2 separate regions of the Homo sapiens genome follow, and region 1 is linked to region 2. The links are contacts of gene promoters, found by promoter capture Hi-C in blood cells and fetal thymus (Javierre and others, 2016). All regions are on one chromosome and are shown on one strand. Each heading gives the region's core, a stretch centred on a gene start or on the middle of the fragment in contact. The rest is flanking DNA. Distances are from core to core; before and after follow the strand shown.

Region 1 (4,397 bases), core at 1,693-4,192, 92 kb before region 2:
ATCTATAGTAGATCCTGGAACAAATCCCCCATGGATACTGAGAGATGATTGTATTTTTATGACATGTAGTTCATAATATTTTAAGTATTTGTGATATGTTGGTAATCTAGATCACTAGCTGTGATAAGCTTATTCAGTATTGTTGATTTACAGGTGTCATTTGGATCGCTAAAAATTTATTGTGTTGTGGTATGTGTTACTTTGCCACCTGTGTTTTTACACATTTTATTTACTTTAAGAAAGTTGTACATTTGATTTTTTTCCCTCGCAATACCCACTTAGCGAAAAGTTATGCTTTTGCTTTGCTTATGAAGAACATAACAATAACATCTATTGAATACTGTTTATTTGGTGTTCTGATTGTTTGAAAAGAGCATACAAGATTGTCCTCAGTTTGGATTTAGCGACTGAGCTAAGATAATAAATAGAGTTTAGTGAAGTTGAAATTTTTGTTTCTTGGCATGGTGGTAGGCATAGAGTTGTTTTCTTGAACTTCGAGGAAGACATTTGCTTAACTTTTTTTTTTTTTTACAGGAATAATGTATTTGTGGCCTTGGACATGAGGCAGTCAGTCCTCTGTTGCTGTTAACATAAGGTCAGGGACTGATGAGGAAAGCATGGACCTAATGAACGGGCAGGCAAGCAGTGTCAATATTGCAGCTACTGCTTCTGAGGTAAGATATTTAAGAAGCTTGGGTGTAAAGTTTCTTACCTGGCTTTCTAATTTTTCAAGCATTATGTTTGTTCACATACTTAAATCAGAAGTGCATTTAGTGCAGAAATACACATTTCCTTTTTTTTTAAATTTTATTTTTTTTTATACTTTAAGTTTTAGGGTACATGTGCACATTGTGCGGGTTAGTTACATATGTATACGTGTGCCATGCTGGTGCGCTGCACCCACTAACTCGTCATCTAGCATTAGGTATATCTCCCAATGCTATCCCTCCCCCCTCCCCCCACCCCACCACAATCCCCAGAGTGTGGTATTCCCCTTCCTGTGTCCATGTGAAATCTCCTTAAGCTGATAAGCAACTTCAGCAAAGTCTCAGGATACAAAATCAATGTACAAAAATCACAAGCATTCTTATACACCAATAACAGACAAACAGACAGCCAAATCATGAGTGAACTCCCATTCACAATTGCTTCAAAGAGAATAAAATACACAGGAATCCAACTTACAAGGGATGTGAAGGACCTCTTCAAGGAGAACTACAAACCACTGCTCAAGGAAATAAAAGAGGATACAAACAAATGGAAGAACATTCCATGCTCATGGGTAGGAAGAATCAATATGGTGAAAATGGCCATACTGCCCAAGGTAATTTACAGATTCAATGCCATCCCCATCAAGCTACCAATGACTTTCTTCACAGAATTGGAAAAAACTACTTTAAAGTTCATATGGAACCAAAAAAGAGCCTGCATCGCCAAGGCAATCCTAAGCCAAAAGAACAAAGCTGGAGGCATCACACTACCTGACTTCAAACTATACTACAAGGCTACAGTAACCAAAACAGCATGGTACTGGTACCAAAACAGAGATATAGATCAATGGAACAGAACAGAGCCCTCGGAAATAACACCGCATATCTACAACTATCTGATCTTTGACAAACCTGAGAAAAACAAGCAACGGGGAAAGGATTCCCTATTTAATAAATGGTGCTGGGAAAACTGGCTAGCCATATGTAGAAAGCTGAAACTGGATCCCTTCCTTACACCTTATACAAAAATCAATTCAAGATGGATTAAAGACTTAAACGTTAGACCTAAAACCATAAAAACCCTAGAAGAAAACCTAGGCATTACCATTCAGGACATAGGCATGGGCAAGGACTTCATGTCTAAAACACCAAAAACAATGGCAACAAAAGACAAAATTGACAAATGGGATCTAATTAAACTAAAGAGCTTCTGCACAGCAAAAGAAACTACCATCAGAGTGAACAGGCAACCTACAAAATGGGAGAAAATTTTCACAACCTACTCATCTGACAAAGTGCTAATATCCAGAATCTACAATGAACTCAAACAAATTTACAAGAAAAAAACAAACAACCCCATCAAAAAGTGGGCGAAGGACATGAACAGACACTTCTCAAAAGAAGACATTTATGCAGCCAAAAAACACATGAAAAAATGCTCATCATCACTGGGCATCAGAGAAATGCAAATCAAAACCACAATGAGATACCATCTCACACCAGTTAGAATGGCAATCATTAAAAAGTCAGGAAACAACAGGTGCTGGAGAGGATGTGGAGAAATAGGAACACTTTTACACTGTTGGTGGGACTGTAAACTAGTTCAACCATTGTGGAAGTCAGTGTGGCGATTCCTCAGGGATCTAGAACTAGAAATACCATTTGACCCAGCCATCCCATTACTGGGTATATACCCAAAGGACTATAAATCATGCTGCTATAAAGACACATGCACACGTATGTTTATTGCGGCATTATTCACAATAGCAAAGACTTGGAACCAACCCAAATGTCCAACAATGATAGACTGGATTAAGAAAATGTGGCACATATACACCATGGAATACTATGCAGCCATAAAAAATGATGAGTTCATGTCCTTTGTAGGGACATGGATGAAATTGGAAATCATCATTCTCAGTAAACTATCGCAAGAACAAAAAACCAAACACCGCATATTCTCACTCATAGGTGGGAATTGAACAATGAGAAATACACATATTTTAACTTTTATTTTAGTGATTCGTATGTTCCCTGTGCATCATAGGTATACTTAATCCTTATCTACTTAAGATACTTGAAAAATAATGACAAATAATGGTAACTCATAAAACTCTTTATTTTTAAAAGAAACATAGAATTTCTTTTTAGAGTATTTTTACATTACATCATCCTTGAGGGCAATAATGCAAGTAAGGCAAAGAAAGATTCTTTTACTTGGAATCACTAAATTTTGGACCCATCTAGATCCCTTGATTCCACATATATTAGAGGAAACAAAAGAACCGTTAGGCTGGAATGTTGTAAGGGCTTACTCTGCTGATGTAGTTTAGCATTTAAGATGGAGATGTGAAGACTGAACTAGATGCTCACCCCTCTAGTTAATATATTATGATTGTATTTTTGCCCCAACTTTTTTATTTTTTTCTTTGTGTATAAATCTAGGGAACTTGCCTGCTTTCCTTAATAACTTTAGCATCTGGCTTCTATATTTCTTATTTTTCTCTTAGTATATTGGATGAGAATAATGTTTATGACCCTTTAACACCTTGACCTCAAAGTTCCTTAATAGCCCCAACTCCATTTTGCCCCAGCTAGTTACTTAGGCCTTGATATCACTGAAAATAGTCTAAGTCTATGGTTTCAATTGTTTTTGTTATGTAGATGATTTATTTTTATCTCTAGCCCTGGCTTCCCTCATGAATTTTATTAAGCATTTTTGATGGACCAGACATTTTAATGTCCACAAAATCAAGTTTCTTATTACTGTTCTGCTCCACAACCATAAAGAAAATAGTCCAAGCCTTTTCTCTAACTTAGGTTAATAGCATCACATTTCCATAGCCATCTAAGTTTAAATCTTTAGATGTGTTGTTTATTTGTGGTGGGGTTTGAGACAGAGTTTTGTTCTTGTTGCCCAGGCTGGAGTGCAGTGGCACGATCTGGGCCCATTGCAACCTCTGCCTCCCAGGTTCAAGCAATTCTCCTGCCTCAGCCTCCCCAGTAGCTGGGATTACAGGTGCTTGCCACCACGCCTGGCTAATTTTTGTATTTTTAGTAGAGATGGGGTTTCACCTTGTTGGCCAGGCTGGTCTTGAATTCCTGACATCAGGTGATCCACCTGCCTTGGCCTCCCAAACTGCTGGGATTATAGATGTGAGCCACTGCATCCGGCCAATGTGTTGTTAATTTTTGCCCACCACAACCATTGTCTCATCATAGCAGAGAGAATCTGCTAGCAAGACAGAAGTTACAATCTTATATAACGTAATCATGGAAGTGACATCTCATCTCCTTTTCCATATTCTGCTGGTTAGAAACAAGTCACAGGTTCTGCCCACACTCAAGGGGAGAGGATCACACAGGGTTGAGAATACCAAGAGATAGAGATCTTTAGCAGCTATCTTAGAGCCTGTCCACTGTGCTTTATCTCTGGGATCCAGTACTTTTCTCCTTATTTCTATTACTGTACTACCATGTTAGTTTGGTCGTTTATTATTTCTTGTCTAGATTAGTGCCATGACCTTTTAGTTGGGTGTTGCACTTATATTTTCTGTTGTTTCTGATCCTTCAACTGAAATTTAAGTTTAATATTCTTAAAATACAGCTCTTAAACTTTATCTTTTCTCAAAACTGTCTGTGGTTCCTCATTGCCTACTAATTAAATTTAAATGCCCACTGAGCCTT
Region 2 (4,804 bases), core at 135-2,634:
AAGTTGGAAAAAATTTTAGCTTTACCATTATTTGCTTGTTCAAGATTCTTAACCATTAATATCTTTAATTTTTACAAGGCTAAAGGAGCCCCAAATCTAACAAACTTAAGTGTCTTTGGTTTAAGGCATACTATTGGTAACGAGTAATTTTATCTTTAATAGTTTTTATAATGCATGTAAAAAAAGCTCCCAGATAGAATATTGAAGGAAACCTCTTATGTGTGCTTAACAAAATTATTTCTACCTAAAATATTACATATTTTTGGCCTTTTAGTCATGAATTTAATTACATCTTCTGGGTTCTTATTTTCTATTGTTAATACCACTTACATAATGCTTTTGTGTGTATATCAATAACTTAGCTTTTCCAAGTGATTCCATTTGTAGCAAGTTTAATTTCTGTCATCCAAATTAAATTACTATTACATGTAAGCCTGGAAAGCTATTTAAAATTTTGAGTTGGAACAAGAAATGCCATAGATTAATCTTAAATCTGTACAAGAATTTCTGCTTAATATTTGGTTATACTGTAATTGAGATTTTGTTGCAAAGACTTTCAACTATTTTTGTATCTTAGCTTTGTTTTATGACTACACTGAGAAATCCAACAGTTTATGTATATCTTCAGCACACACACTGTGGCTGCAGGAAGAGAAACTAATTGTGTTCACGACTATTTAGTTTGTATTCCTTTGTTTTTAATCATTGTGCTGTAAGCCTTATACATTTAATCTGTTACTTGTTAAAATTTCTTTCTACTGTCACTAAAGCACTTGTTTTCAGAAACCCAGCATGGCATGCATGTATCAGTCTGTAATCATATACACTAAACATCATTAAATTGAACCTCAAATAATGCATTAACCATTGCACAGTACTTAATGTTTTTATGTCAAGTTGCAAGATAAAACCTTTTTCAGATGAGATAAACTGTAGTATATTCCAAAGGTCTTTGTTTAGTAAAAGATTCTGAAATTTCTACTACAAATATAAAATAGTTATGCATTTGCTATACATAATATTTTTAAATAAAAGAAATATTAAATACCTTTTTGTGTCTGTTGATTCAGTGAATCCAGAAACTTGCTGCCCTTATTCTTGATTTTAAAAATCAGTGTAGAAGTTTGTTCATCTGTGACTTTAATGGCAGCTGCATTTTTGTTTTGGACCGTTGAATCCAAGCTGTAAGAAGGAACTTCTTTTTCCTTTTACAATACTAATCAATTGAATTTGACAAGCCACCTATGTAATTTTAAGTAGTATAGTGGAAGTTCTGGTCTGTGGGCCGTCTTTAATCCAGCAGAGAAAGCGTTGTGGCTTTGCTCTGTCTGCCACATGGAGAAATGCAGTAACCAGCTGCAGCTGACCCAGATTGTATATACAGTACCCCTGAATAGTGATTCCCTCTTTCTCAGTAGACTCAAGTTCAGCCCACATATTACATCACCAAAAATTGCTGGAGACTGGGGGCGGGAATCTCCTTAGGATTTCCTCTTTGTAGCCTTAAATAGGGGGGTGGGATCAGCAGGAGGTTGAATAGTTTTGAACAAGGAGAGATTGTGTGCAGGTTGAAGGAAGGGCACCATCTGGAAACAAACTATCATAGTTCAGCGGGCAATTATAAAACAAACATTTTAGTCTGCTGGCCAGAGATCTTTTAAGTTGAATACCGAAAAAAAAAATAGTGCTCCACTTCACTTAGAAGTAGTTGCAGGCTGATGAGTTTGGTTTTTGTTAACAAAGAACAAGAGCTAGACTTTGTCAGGAGGCAGCCACCTAAATAATGTAATAAATACTCTTTATAGCCTAGAAGAATTTGTAAACATTTTACTAAGTTGCTAATGAAGGTTTTAAACTTACAAGAAACTTGATGTTGTTGTAGTATGTTATGTCTTACTGTGTAATGTGTCTTAAGATAAAACAGCCTTTATATATAATTACCAAACATAAGTGAAATTCTTTCAGATGCTTAAGACTTTTAAATATTACATTCTGGTGTTACATAATGTCATATCCTCCTATTCTACAAAATGACCTCTCCTCTCTGTAAAAGGTCATTCTTGTTATTAATTGATGTGGTGTGGTTTAAAAACAAACATAACCCTGAACTGAGTAAAAAACAAGGAAGCTCTGACTCTATGCCAGCTATGTGAACTTAGACAAATCACTTTACCTGCCTCTGGCAAGGTTCTTCTGCTATGAAATAAGGTGGTGGAAGAAATGAATAAGTGTTGAGTACAACTATACTATTGTATTTCATTAATTGAAGAAATGTTAAATAACTCAGTAGCTGAAGAAACACAAACTTAGGCTTAAGTAACTTAGCTTAGCACTTAAGTACTAAGTAGTGGAACTGGGATTTGAATCTAATGCCAAAGCATTATGCCACACTCTCTGTCATTGATTACCTAGTTGCTGTAAGCTGCTTCTAGATAAAACTTTTGGGCTTTCTCTACATACCTGTGCTTTCCCTTCCTTATTGCTGTAGCTTGTGCTGTGTTTCTCTTTCTGTTAGGCCACACTGTTGATCCACATCCTTTATTTAAAGTCTGAGCTTATTTTCTACCTCTTTCACAGAATCATTTATTTGAATTCCTATGCCATATATAGGTATACCAGAGGTTGCAAACACAAGGGCCTAGAAAGGCAAATGCTCACAAGAAGAATGGAGCAGGTAATATAAATCAGTGAAGTAAATCAGTAGTAAGATACTGGAGGGAAATGAAGTTTATGGCAAGTTGGCATCCTTTTGGTTAATTTAAAGGGATCTGCCTGCACCTTCTCAGCTGTGCTTGTGGCCATGAAGGATTATGAGACAGTGTTGCCAGATCTTCCCATTATTCAGGAAAAAAGAGCCATTTAGATTTTTCCTGTAATACTTCCTGATTTTAAAAAACATTGGGACAGATGTGCTGCCAGCTTCTGGCCTCTGATTTGTATTATGTATCGTTTCTTGAGCATTCAGTAATTATGTTGTAGTCACTAATGGCTTAAATCTGGGAAAAATAAGAGATAATAAATTCTTTCTGAGCTTTTAAACTTTCAGCAGTTTGGAGCTTTCTAACTTGAGCACTTAGTAATATCACTAGCCAGGGTAGGAAATTGGAATGACAGGTATTTAGGGACAGATTATGGTTAGATATGTTAAATTGAAAATGAAAGTCAGGAGCTCAGTTATATGGAGAGATTTGAAAGTCACCAGCAATTAGGTAGTAGCTAAAGCTATGGAACTAAGATACTAGAGAAAGTACATGTAGAATGTAAAGGAAGGTTAATGACAGACCATGATACCAATTTCCAGGAAACCAGCTTACAAGAAACATGAGGAAAAAGAAGAATGGTGGGGGCTTAGGGGGAAGATACGAAAGTTCAAGGTAGGGAAAACCTGAGAACTAGACGAGAATGGTTACAATACTGCAGAGACATTACATAGGGAGGGGAGACCAAGAGAGATGTTTTAAGACTTAGAATGAGAAAGTTATTAATGCCATTGCCAAAATAAGTGATACATACAGATTTCAGATTATTTAGTGTGTTGAAGGGTGACTAGATAAAATTTAACTGACAAATTAGTGTCCACAATACATTAAGAAATTAGAAATCCATAAGAAAAAGACAACCCAAAAGAAAAAATGAACAGAAACATTTATTACATAGAAATATATACGTTTAACCTTATTACTAATCAAGGAAATAAAAATTAAGACACAGAGAGATACCATTTTATACTCAGAAGATTGGCAAAATTGAGATGGATAATACCAATTGTTAGCACAAATGTGGATCAACAGAAGCTTATATACCGTGAGTGGGAGTATGAATTGATACAGCTTTGAAAAATAATGTGACACCATCTTGTAAAGTTGAATATTAATATACTTTAGCACTTGGCAGTTTTGCTCCTAGGCATGTTTGTATATCCTGAAGAAATTTTGTACATGTGTACTGGGAGATGTGTATAAGAATGTCTATAGCAACATGGTTGGGGGTGGGATGGGAGTAACTCAAAAGTCTATCAAATAAAATGGATGAGTTACAATTGTCACACATTAGCTTGTTCTCATTATAAGGAATTACAGCAGCATTTAACAGCGTGGACAAGTCTTAGAAACAAAATAGACGAAGCAACCACAGAAGACCATATTTTTAAATTTTATTTAATAAATGCTTATAAATCACTTGGTATGTACTAGACACTTTTTTTTTGAGACGGAGTCTTGCTCTGTCACCCAAGCGGGAGTGCAGTGGTACGATCTCGGCTCACTACAAGCTCCGCCTCCTGGGTTCTCGCCATTCTCCTGCCTCAGCCTCCCATACTAGACACTTTTCTAACATTACAAATACTATTATTTAATCCACACATACAATAAAATATGATTTTTAAAGCTCAAAAATAGGCAAAAGTAGGAATACAGACAAATGTCGGGGAAAAAATAAGGGAATGATCTTAAAGTTCAAGGTAATGGTTACTTCTGGACAGGAAGCAAGGAGATGAAGTAGAGAAGGAACATACAGATAGATGCAACAGTATTGATGATGTCGTAGTTCTTTTTTAAAGTAGTTTACCCCAACATATTAAAATATTAACATGTAACCAATAAAAAAGTTAATAGATATTTTACATTAATTTTTCATGTTAACTCTTCAAAATCTTGTCTATTTTATATTCAAATACACCTCAATTCAGAATAGACCCACGAAACAGTAGTCACATGTGGCAAGTGGTTATATTGGACAGCACAGTATAGCGAGTGACTACAGGCGAGTTGTCATCTGAGTTTAATAAGATGGAAGAATGGCAAGA

The links. Contacts are between HindIII fragments. The CHiCAGO score rates a contact against its expected background, and 5 or more counts as called.
Region 1: a contact is called between a fragment that was not itself captured here and the fragment with the promoter of ANGPTL1 in region 2, in 1 of 17 cell types (total B cells). The highest score is 5.8, in total B cells.

What each region holds. Positions count from the first base shown.
Region 1 is chr1:178,776,148-178,780,544 of GRCh38, forward strand. It overlaps RALGPS2 (Ral GEF with PH domain and SH3 binding motif 2), which reads left to right. Exons shown (of 20, transcript NM_152663.5): 2 at 535-674. The coding sequence starts at 618. Among named protein-coding and RNA genes, the nearest start is that of RALGPS2-AS1, 52 kb to the left of the region's middle. The HindIII fragment of the contact is 4,507 bases long and covers 690-4,397 here.
Region 2 is chr1:178,869,693-178,874,496 of GRCh38, forward strand. It overlaps ANGPTL1 (angiopoietin like 1), which reads right to left and starts at 1,385. Exons shown (of 6, transcript NM_004673.4): 1 at 1,049-1,385. All of the region lies in intron 8 of RALGPS2 (Ral GEF with PH domain and SH3 binding motif 2), which reads left to right. The HindIII fragment of the contact is 10,209 bases long and covers 1-3,792 here.